Regions from separate parts of the Homo sapiens genome. Here regions 1 and 3 are each linked to region 2. The links are contacts of gene promoters, found by promoter capture Hi-C in blood cells and fetal thymus (Javierre and others, 2016). All regions are on one chromosome and are shown on one strand. The core of a region is centred on a gene start or on the middle of the fragment in contact, and the rest is flanking DNA. Distances in the headings are between cores, read along the strand shown. Region 1 has its middle 72 kb from the start of SH3GL2. Region 2 holds the start of CNTLN (centlein). Region 3 overlaps CNTLN (centlein).

What was found. The method cuts DNA at HindIII sites, captures the fragments that hold promoters and counts their contacts. A CHiCAGO score of 5 or more calls a contact.
Region 1: a contact is called between a fragment that was not itself captured here and the fragment with the promoter of CNTLN in region 2, in 1 of 17 cell types (monocytes). The highest score is 5.5, in monocytes.
Region 3: a contact is called between a fragment that was not itself captured here and the fragment with the promoter of CNTLN in region 2, in 5 of 17 cell types (monocytes, erythroblasts, M2 macrophages and 2 more). The highest score is 11.1, in monocytes.

Annotation. Positions count from the first base shown.
Region 1 is chr9:17,504,665-17,508,675 of GRCh38, reverse strand. It overlaps a transcript of CNTLN not described here. Among named protein-coding and RNA genes, the nearest start is that of SH3GL2, 72 kb to the left of the region's middle. The HindIII fragment of the contact is 243 bases long and covers 1,974-2,216 here.
Region 2 is chr9:17,133,149-17,136,784 of GRCh38, reverse strand. CNTLN (centlein) reads right to left here and starts at 1,745. Exons shown (of 26, transcript NM_017738.4): 1 at 1,360-1,745. The coding sequence starts at 1,719. RefSeq lists an enhancer at 901-1,464. The HindIII fragment of the contact is 13,995 bases long and covers 1-3,636 here.
Region 3 is chr9:17,485,920-17,489,752 of GRCh38, reverse strand. CNTLN (centlein) reads right to left here. Exons shown (of 26, transcript NM_017738.4): 25 at 2,687-2,764. Among named protein-coding and RNA genes, the nearest start is that of SH3GL2, 91 kb to the left of the region's middle. The HindIII fragment of the contact is 1,469 bases long and covers 1,190-2,658 here.

The DNA.
Region 1 (4,011 bases), core at 846-3,345, 370 kb before region 2:
AAGGCTATACATTCCATAATTCCATTTATATAACACTCTCAGTGACAAAATTATAGTGATGATGAACAGGTCGGTGGCGGCCAGGGATTAGAGTTAAAGGGAGGGTGTGAGTGCTAAGGGGTAACATGAGGAATAGTCTTTGTGCTGATGGAACAGTTCTGTATCTCAATTGTGGTAATGCTTGTATAATCTATACATGTGACAAAATGTCCTAAAAACACTCCAACGAAGTGAATGTAAAAACTTAAATCCATCTATGGTCTATATTTTAGTTAAAAATATTGTACCAATGCCATCTTCCTGGTTTGGACAGTGTACTGTGGTTATGTAAGATGTTACCATTCAGGGAATCTGGGTGAAGTGTATTCAAAAACTCTGCTTACTATTTTTGCAACTTCTTGTGAATGTTAAATTATCTTGAAATAAAATGTCATATAAAAATAAAGAAAAATCTGGAAAATAAAAATGTCTTGACTATGCTTTTCTTTTTCTGCCTTGGGTCCATCACTGAATTCATGAGGAGAGTGTCACGGTTAGTGCACTAAGGAAGAACACAGAGGGTTGTATGCTAAAACAATTCTGACCTACAGGGTGGAGCATGAACCCAGGGAAGTCTCTAATACTTCTCTCTGGGTGACTCTGAGGCCTTCACGCTAGGGTCAGCATTAACAAAGAGCAACATTTTCTCTAACACAAAATGTAAGAGTACAGAAGGCAGGGGCACCACCTTCTTTTAAATTATCCCTAATGATCATTTCCTAGGTGAAAGGAAAGTTGAATGTGGCAAAAAGTGTTGGAAGGAGCTGATGTCAAAACTCTGGTTTTGTAGACTGTGTCTGCTGAAGAAAGAAGGAAACTGAGGATTGGACTATGCGCAGAAGTGTTTGTAGTGTCTACCATTCCTTGGTGAGCAGAAAAAAATTTCTGATCAAATATGTCTGTGTATTTAAAAATTAAAAGTCGAAGCTTTTTTAAAAAATCATCTTTTTGATGAAAGATTTCATGTCACAGGCAACAAAAAAGTCATTTTTATCCATTATATTAAGCCACTTATATAAATTTGTGTTAATACCAAAGGCAGTTACGTGCATGGAAATGTAGGAATTAGAAATAGCAACTCTTCGAACTAAAAACCGAATTACTATTTGACCCAGTAACCCAATTAGTAGTTATATATGCAAAGGAAAGTAAATCATTCTATTAAAATGATATCTACTTTTGTATGTTCATAGCAGCATTCTTCACAATAGCAAGGATATGGAATCAACCCAAGTGCCTATCAATGGTGGATTGGATAAAGAAAATGTGGAAGATATATACACCATGGAATACTATGCAGCCATAAAAAAGAACAAAAGCATAGCCTGTGCAACAGTGGAAATGGAGCTAGAAGTCATTGACCTAAGCAAATTAATACAGAAACAGAAAACAAAATACCTCATGTTCTCATTTAAAAGTGGGAGATAAACATTGGGTACACACAAATACAAAGATGGAAACAATAAGCACTGGGGATTCCAAAAGTGGGGAAAAGGAGGGAGAGAGGGTTGAAAAACTATGTATCAGGTACTGTTTGCTACTTGGGTGATGAGATTATTAGAAACTCAAAGCTCAGAATCATGCAATGTATTCATTTAGCAAACCTACACACGTACCCACTGAATCTAAAATAAAATAAAGACAGGATTTTGAATGTTCTTAAGACAAATAAGTAATAAATGTTTGAGGTGACAGATATAATTACCCTGATTTAATTATTACCCAATGTACGCATGCATTGAAACATTCTATTTTACCCCATACGTATGTAAAATTATGTATCAATTAAAAATTTTTTAAGAGGAAAAAAATAGCAACTCTTCTGCCCATGTATCTCATGAACTCTTCTGAACATAGGCCAATAAAAGGCTCTCTCAAATGTTTTCTGGTACATTTTGTTGTTTTTACAGTTATTTGAGAACATTAAGTAAGCTTCTCTTGTTGTGGCTACAAATTTATTATAGTAATTTTCACTTTCGACCCTCTAAATCCAAAGGTCATTTTTGCTACTGGGAAGAATCCTGCATAATATGGAGAAGAAATTAAAATAGGCAAAGCTGTCAGTAGATGAGTAAGGGCTAGCGTTGAAGAATGAAATTCACTCTTTCCGCTGTCCCATATTCTGAAACACACATAAACATGACAACTTTCACTTATAGCAGCCATAGCCCCAAGCTTATTTCATAATTTCCCAGGATATAAATAAATGTTACTCACAGAGGACTGCCTTGTTGTTGTTTACTGTTGAGTTTTGGGAATTGTTTATTTTAGATATGAATCCTTTGTCAGTGATTTGCAAATGTTTTCTCCCAGTCTGTAGCTTGTCTATTCCCAGGGTGAAAGTTTTTAATTTTGATGAAGTAAAACTTATCAATTTTTCTTTTTTGCATCATGCTTCTGGTGTCATGGCTAGAAATTCTTCACCAAATCTGAGGTCCTGAAGATTTTCTCTCATGTTATATTCTACATTTTACATTTAAATGTTGACCCATTTTGATGTAATTTATGTCTGAATGTGTGATGTGTGAGGTTTAGGTCAAGATTTTTTTTTTTTTTTAACCCAAGATGCCCAACTGCTTCAGGACCATTTGTCAAAAAGGTGATTATGCCTCTATTGAATTGCTTTTGAACCTTTGTCTCAAATCAGTTGGGCATATTTGCTTAGGTGTATTTCTTGGTTCTCTATTCTTTTTCATTGATTTATTTGTCCAGCCCTCTACCTGCCAGCACCACACACTCCTGATTAGTGTAGCTATTTAATACACCTTGAAACTGGGTAAAGTGATGTCTCCCACTATTATGCTCTTAGTTTTACTTAAAAGCTATTCTAGTTTCTGAGTTCCCATATACATTTTAGAAAAATGTTCTCTATTTCCTAAATCTCTTGCTGTGATGTTGGTAGGAATTGTGTTAAATCTCTATATAAATTTGGAGACAGCTGGCATCTTTAACATAAGTATCCTAACCCATGGTCTTACTATGTCTCCTAATTTATTAGATCTTTTTCATTTCTTTCGCTAGTGTTTTATAATTTTCATACACAAGTACTATGCATGTTTTGCAGGTTTTATACCTAAGTATTTCTCTTTTTCGGGAAATTGTACATTGTATTGTATTTTTAATTTCATTTTCCACATTTTTTTACTAGCTTACTAGTGTATAGAAACACAATCTTTCCATGTTGATTTTGCATCTTGAGATCTTGCTGGACTCATTAATTCTGTAAAGTTTTTTGTTTTTGTTTTGAGTGGTTATTTTTCTTTTTCCTTTCCAATCTGGATGCCTTTTATTTCCTTTTCTTGCCTTATTAGGCTGGCTAGAATTTCCCACGTTATGTTGAGAGAGAGTGGTGAGAGTTGAAATCTTTGCCTTCTTCCTGATTATAGGGGGAAGTGTTTGGTCTTCATCATTACATACAATGTTAGCTGTAGGCTTTTAAAAGATGGTCTTATCAAATTGAGAAGTTCCTATTTATAGTTTTCTGAGTTTTTTTTAAAATAAATGAGTGCCAATTTTTGTCACATGCTTTTTCTATATCAAATTTTATGATTGTGGGGTATTTTTAGCCTCTTAATATGGTGGTTTACACTGATTGAACCAGCTTTGATTGTGTATCTTTTGACCAATATCCCTCATGAACATAGATGTAAAACTTCTAAACAGATTTCTGGCAAATTCTATTTGTTTTCTATTGTTGCAGTCACAAAGTACCACAAACTTAGTGGCTTAAATTAGATAAAATGTATTATCTTACAGTTCTAGATGTCCAAAATCAGTTTCACTGGGGTAAAGTCAAGGTGCTGACAGGACTGAGCTTTTCCTAAGGCTCCAGGAAGAATCTGTTTCCTTGCCTTTTCTGGTCTCCAAGGGCCATCCACATCCTTTGGCTCATGGCCGTTTCCTCCATATTTTAAGCCAGTACTGTGGCATCTTCAAATTTCTCTTTCTACCTCTCTGGTAACATTATTCTCT
Region 2 (3,636 bases), core at 496-2,995:
GAAGAACAGAAAAATGGTAAAACGAAAAGAGGGCACCATATTAAATGTCCCAACCTTGTTTAACCAAAGGCACATTCAATTTGAAGATGGTCCCATTTTTACACCCTTCACTCAGTCAGCAAGGACCTATAAAATGGGCAAAAGAATCCAACAGAACAAACTATGAGAGAATGAATTTCTGTAATCCCAGCACTTTGGAAGGCCAAGGCTGGCGGACCACGAGGTCAGGAGATCGAGACTGTCCTGGCTAACACGGTGAAACCCCATCTCTACTAAAAATACAAAAAATTAGCCAGGCGTGGTGGCGGACACCTGTAGTCCCAGCTATTCGGGAGGCTGAGGCTGGAGAATGGCGTGAACCCGGGAGGCGGAGCTTGCAGTGAGCTGAGACTGCACCACTGCACTCCAGCCTGGGCGACAGAGAATGAATTTCATGAACTGTTTTATTAAACTGATGATACTGTTCACAAAGTTACTTTGATGTTCAGCAGCTCCTAATTGGTTTCTAAGTTGAAGACAGAGTGACTTAAAGATCTACTGTTCAGTGAGTTTCCCACATCCAATCTCCCAACCCTATCTAAAGGTTCTGGTAAAATCAAAAGAGATGATGGTAAGGATGCAAAACTAAAGGAAAATTCAATCTCTTTGAACATGAGTATAGTCAAGTCCATCCTTACAAAAACTCTACAAACAGGAAAGTAATTTTAATGCAATTGATTTAGCAAATGTTTTTCACTGGCAAGATCACATGAAAATGTGATTTCTCACTCAAGGACCGCGGAATTACCATAGCTGGTTAATAAACAAGTACCAAGCATCATCTATTGTTAAGTTCCCGGCTCTGAGACTTTCTAAACGTTACTCGTCTGTGTTTACAACTTAAGTTTGACTGGGTAAAAACAAAGCCAAGTGTGGGTTTGAAATTTTAAAAACAGGCTCCTTCATCGATGGATTTTACTCTAACCGAAGTGTTTACACTTTCCTGTTCATTTCAACTAGTGGACTGCATGTCACTCCTGGGCCCCCGGCAGGTATCAGCTACCGTCACCACCAAGAACTTGGGCTTGGGGGGGAAGCGGAGAGGATGCGACTGCGAGTATCCAAGTGACCAAAACCAAACCCGGGCGCGGAGGCGAAGCCTGTCTGGCCGCAGTTCGGAAAGGGGCAGGGGCCCGGGTTTGGGGAGCCGGGCGCAGCCGCGTCCCTCCAGCCCCCGGCCGCGAGCGAAGCAGGGTGTGCATCTGCCAGGGAGCGTCGCTGGGCGGGGTAGGTCCCAAGGCAGAGGGAGAAAGGCGCGCCTCCCCACGGGTCCCGGCCCCGCTGTGGTGGGGAAAGGGGGACTGCGAGACTCCTCGATACCTGACACAGGGCCAACTCCTCCTTTAGGCTGCTCAGCTCTTCCTCCAGCAGCTGCGTCCGGGTCACCATCGCCTCCTCTACCGAGATGCCCTCTAGCCGTCTGGACCCCATGGGCGCGCTGAGGAGGGGAGCATGAGCCGGAGCTGCCCCCCCAGGCCCTCGCCGGCCCCCTGACCCTTCTTCACCCACCCAGATTTTATCACTTTCGTCCGCGACCACCTCCCGCGCTGCGCCGGCAAAACCCGAGGCCTCGCTGCGCATTGCGTGTACTTCAGCTCCCCGCCCAACACGTGGGGACCTGGGGCCCAGCTGTCGCGCTGGGGGCGAAGGGTGCGGTGAGGGAGGCGAACGCGCCGCCATGGCTGCGGCTGCTAACGGGTCAAGTTCCCTGTTGGAAACTCCACCTCCCTTTCCCCAACCCGGCGAGCCCGGAACGCCGAACCGCGCATGCGCGAGGCTTTTCCCGCCTTGGCCCGCGGTGTCCCGTGTTCTCTGGTCCTGGCCGGCTTCCCGCGGGCAATGCGCCCAGCGCGAGCCTTGGGGTACGCACGCGCCGTGGCCCGAAAGGGTAAGGCCGGTCCGCCGGGCAGGCCATCCCAGCGTCCTGTGCCTGAGTCCTTGGCCAGGATCGCCTGGATTTCCCGCCCACCTAAAGCCCTGCCTGCCACTTACATCCCACCTCTTAAAGCCTTCCTTGACAAGCCCCCAGCCCCAAATGATCCTTAACTGTGAAATCCCTCTCCTTCAAGGCCCCTGCCAACTCGTGTGACACGTTTCATTGACCGCCCTGGAGTGTCAGTTACACGGCTAATCTCCCCAGCCCTGTTGTAAGCTCCTTGAGGATCAAGGAATACGTTTTACACTTAAGTGTTTTCTTCACACCCCTTGGCAAAACTGCTTTAGTACAGCTGACATCCAGCTGACTAATGTCAAGGAGATGTGGAAAGCCTTGTGCTGATCTGGGACTATCAAGCAGGTTTCCAACTTGAATGATGATCCTTTGTACACCCTTTGTCTTTTGTTTTGCAGGAGTCATGATTTCCTTTGAGTTTTTATGTCAGCTTCTTTATGCGTTGGCTGGATATCAGAGGAAGTGTAGCCCACATTGCTGAACAGTTTGGGTCCTTGGAGCAGTTTGAAATCAGTAATTTGGAGCGTGGATGAAGAAACAAGACCTACTTTATCTTTTGTTCTCTTTTTTTTCTTTTTCTTCTGGCTTTCTTTATAAACTTCAAATAGGTAGTAATCGTATCTTTCTTTGCCCTTCAAATACTTTGTTACTATTGATAAGATTAATGAGATGCATATTGAGCTGGCACCAGAACATCCCTGAAAGTTAGAACTGCCCTCTTCTTCAGAAAGGGTTCCAGAATACTTGGGGAAAGCTGAGATGGGGGTTGAGAGCAGAAGTAGAGAGATGACCACTTTACTGTTAACTTCATTTAACCAAAATATCACCATCTCTGCATGAGAATCTAGTCAGGATGCCAAAAGACACCCTCCCAATTAGAATCCTGCCAAGGCAACCAAGATAAGTGGACTTCTTTCAAACTGAAGGTGAATTCCTCACAAAAACTTATTAAAGAGTACATTAGAAAAAGTATGTTTATAAGCCTGTCTTAGAACTAGCTAACCTACTGAACATTTACCATATGCTGAGTCCAGTGCTAAGCACTTTTCATATATGAACTCACTTAATACATATGTCACCTTCAATTAGATTATTATATATCTCCATTTTTACTAGTGAGGAAACAGACTTGCAAGGTTACTGTAACTTCTCTGAAGTGCCATGTCTGGTATCAGAAAAGCTAGGCTTTGAATTCACTGAATTCCACTTAACTCTGAAAACCTGTACTTTGATCGCTACCCTGTCTCCACACCTGTGACTTGAAATACAACATTTGGTCTTGATAGTCTGTGAGATTTCACTAGACTTAAGACTGGGAAGTCTAACCACATAAGTTACGTGTTTGGCCCCAAATCAGTATTAATGCACATTTTTAATTGCTGTATGTCATTCACTCAAAAGGACATCATTTCACCTGATCATAAAAAGATCCTTTTGAAAAGCAGTGGTATAAATATGTATATGTGACCTCCCAAAAGGATAATATCCTGACTCTTTGACTAGGCATTTTTTTAAATTTTGTCTTTATTGGAGCAAAATACACAAAATACACAACATAAAATTTACCATCGTAGGCATTTTAAATGGCTACAAATAGGCCAGGCGTGGTAGCTCACGACTGCAATCCCAGCACTTTGGGAGGCCGA
Region 3 (3,833 bases), core at 675-3,174, 350 kb before region 2:
ATCAAATATACATAAGTTAAAATTTTAGACCTTTTAGTTCTCATGCACTTGTAGCTAACAACAGCAGTAGGTATCATATTATTATTAGTTCCACATTACCACATGGAAGAACAGCTTTTTATTTTGTGGTGAATATTTTATCAATATGACATTCTATCAAACAAAAGCAGAAAAAAAAATATTTTTTTTAACAGAAAGCAATTCTGTGGCCCAATCAAACAAAAGACAAAATCACAGGGCCAGATTCACCCTGATAATCTCAGGATTTGATCACATACAGCACCCAACACACAGAGAGGACATAAAAGAGAGGTTTTCCAATAATTTTATCAAAATATTTGAATAAAAAAATCAACATTGGACTAATTAGTAATTTTTAGAAAATGTCTTCAGTTATTCCACAATGTGAAGATGATGTAAGCTCATACCCAATGAGCAATAAGCCATAAACTAAACAAAATGTATGAATGAACATATTTACACTTTTGCCCATACAATCCTGTGAGTGTAACTCAGACTCTAAAAAAAGGCTGGTGGGCAAAGAAAACCTTTTCTAAAATTCAGGACAAATATAATTGCTTGGATTGAGAGAGAAGAAAAGTAGGCTAAAAAAAAAAGGTGTTTTCTATTTTATAGATTTTTCTCTTGGGTGTAATTATAAAGTGACATTCAAGTGCAACCAATGAAGTACCTATTTGTTCTCTCACAAAATTCAAAGACATCAGCAAAACCACCTATGTCAGTAATAAAAATAAAAAGTCTTTGACTTTTTAAATGTTATCATACTGTCACAGTGGAATAAAATTAGCTTGAAAAATGATCTAAAGGCACATGATGCAGTTCATTACGTATAACAGCAACAGCAGCGGTTTCCCAGTGTTCATAAAGGCTGCTCCATTAAATTTACCTCCAGTCAATAATTAGGAGTCCACAAATAAACCTGGGCAATTAAATCAATACTGCCTGGCAATTATATTCCAGAGTCCAGGCTCAGTGGCACAAAAAGGCACTATATCAAGCTGCAGTATTAAGCAGTCTGATGCCATTTTCAACAGAATTTTTTTATACTCACTGGACAGAATAAGCATACATTCAGCTAATGCAGAATGTATGTATATACCTCTCCACGTGTTAACCAAAAAAACTCAGGTCCAGTGTCAGTACAGTTTTAGTAAAATTTAACAAAGCTTTACACGTACAGATTTATTATTTTTATAGTCATAATTATGATAAAATTTCTAATTCAAATAAATACAGGCCATATTTACAAAGTGAACATTTTAAAAATTCATTAAAAAGTTTATTTTTATCATTTTCAAGTTGAAAAGAAAAACCTCATTACAATCATTATTGAATTCTTTGATGTGTCAGCCACTGAGCTAGGTTCTGGGAGTACCACATGATTAAGAAATGGCCTCTGTTCTCAAAAGCAAGTAGTCAGTGTAAAAGGCTTTGTCTAGCACCTGCACATCTACACTTAAACAACTTTCAGCAAATGATTTTTAATCACCTATTGTTATTAAAGTGATTCCAGACAATGTTTCAAAAATATATCAAACTGATACTAACATGAATTGTTGATATACTATTTATTTATTCTCGACTTTACTAAAAGCACGGAAACTGATACTTGTTAATATAAATGTAAAATAATTGCATTTAATATCAGTTTCTATTTTTAATCTTTACACAGAAACATTTACAATGACTTTCCAAAAATCACAGGACAATTTTTGGGGTATTTTGACAAATATGTTTTGGCTTTTATTTATTCCAGTCCATTTAAAAAATAAAAAATTAGGTTAAGCCGAAAGAACTATAATGAAAAAGTTTTAGAATACATTACATGCTGTCAGTGATGTCAAAACAAAAGCTGGCTATGACTAGAAAAGCAGGGCTCTCACCTGCCAATAAACTGCCCTTGATCACTTACAAGAGGGGCGCATCCCAGCAGACTATATGTGTATTAAAAAAATACTTGAAAGGGAAGAAAAAGTATCACACAGGTCACAGCAGCAGTCTCAACAGACCCCTCAGGGATTTCAACTCGTCTTGGCCTTGTCATCCTCTATGCAGCTTTCCACTCGGCCCAGAAAATGTCGATAGGAAAATGTTTGAGGGGCCTCTGGTGGAAATTTTTTCATTCTTTCTGCATTGACAGGATGCCAAATCAATATTTACTTCCCACTAACAAGCTGCTCGAGGTCTCAGTAGAAAATATTGTAGAGAATGCGGGAAGACACAGTAATAAACAGCTGTCTGGCTGTGAGGAAAACATGAATTGACTGGAAACAGGTCCATAGTAAAAGGTCACTGAAACCCATGAACTCCTCAGGTGTCCATATCAAATACTAACTTTAAAGACACATAATAAAGAATCTCTTTTCCTAAGAGGTCTGGGAGAATGGATCCTTTTCAGTCTAGCAAGCACAGAGGTTGACTCAATAATTTAATTAATGCATTTGCTAAGACCCATGTTGGCTCTATCCCAAGGTATTTGTTTCATTTGTTAAGTCCCAAAGTACAAATAGAGGGTTAACTTTCCTTTCTACCTATTGGAATACTTCTTTACCTAACAGAAGTAAACAATGGGGAAGTGTTTACAAAAAGTTAGACATCTGGTGAAAATGTAAGGCTTGGAATTCTTATTTGGAAGCTTAATATATGAAACAGAAAAATGAAATACCTGTCCTTCAAGAAGTTTCTGAATGTACAACATCCATTCCTTGTCATTTTCAGCATCAATTTTTGTTTTTTCAATTTCCTGAAGAAAAAAAATAAAAACACTGGTGTTAACGAAATTTATATGAACTTGTTTATACTATTAGATACTGAATAAATCTGGAGTAATATCAGTAGAATTAGATTCAACAAAGAACAGTCTGTCATCTCAAAGTAGAAATATTTAAGTCCATGCTCTTTAAAATTTAATTTATCGATACGTACTACGGAAGATATAGCTATATTTATATACTTCACAGTAATTCAGAAATATTTAATTTCTACCTTCACAGTGGAGCTCAAAGTAGGGGCTAATATGGGGGTGAAAGCAATTAAAGTGAAAAATCAGATGGAGTTATATAAAAGAATCATTTACAGGTGACTCTCATGAGATAATACAAAACCTAATATTCCAAAATCTGACTTGTCAGCAGATAACTAAGGAGTAATTGTTCATTACAAACAGAATAGAACATGGCATGACTCCGGTATATTTAAATGCTTGTTGATTCAAACTATCCAATAATCTACTGATAGGCCAGGGACACTCCAACTTAAAGTGCTATAGGTCACAAAGTATTTTCAACCCATCAATTATCATGACAGAATATTTCTGGAATTGAAATGTATTCACACGTACAGTTGATGATTCACTTGAAATTGTAATTTCAGTTTACGAAAAAAAAAACTGACTTTCCAAGAAGGGAAGGGCGTGAGAAACTATTATTTGTTGAAATTTACTGTATGGCAGGCATCATGCTAGGCACTTCAGATAGGCTATCACAGTTTCTGATGTGAATTTACTACAGTTCGATATAGTGTAAAGAACATAAATCAGGTGATCTGGGCTCTGCTTGGGCAAATCCTTGGACCTCTGGAAGATGACAGGATCAGTCTAAATAAGCTCTGGTCTATAATGAAATCTAGTAAATATATCAAAATGTACCTATCCCTCTTAGAACAGTGTGTTTATATCTCTTATTCTTTCAGGAGGGACTTGATTTAAGATTGTGTGACATGCATATTACAGTGCTGTGTACTCTTGTCTTCAGATTCCACCTGCCCAGAGGCAGAGGTGTCACTTATTCACAGACATGCACCATCTAGTCTTT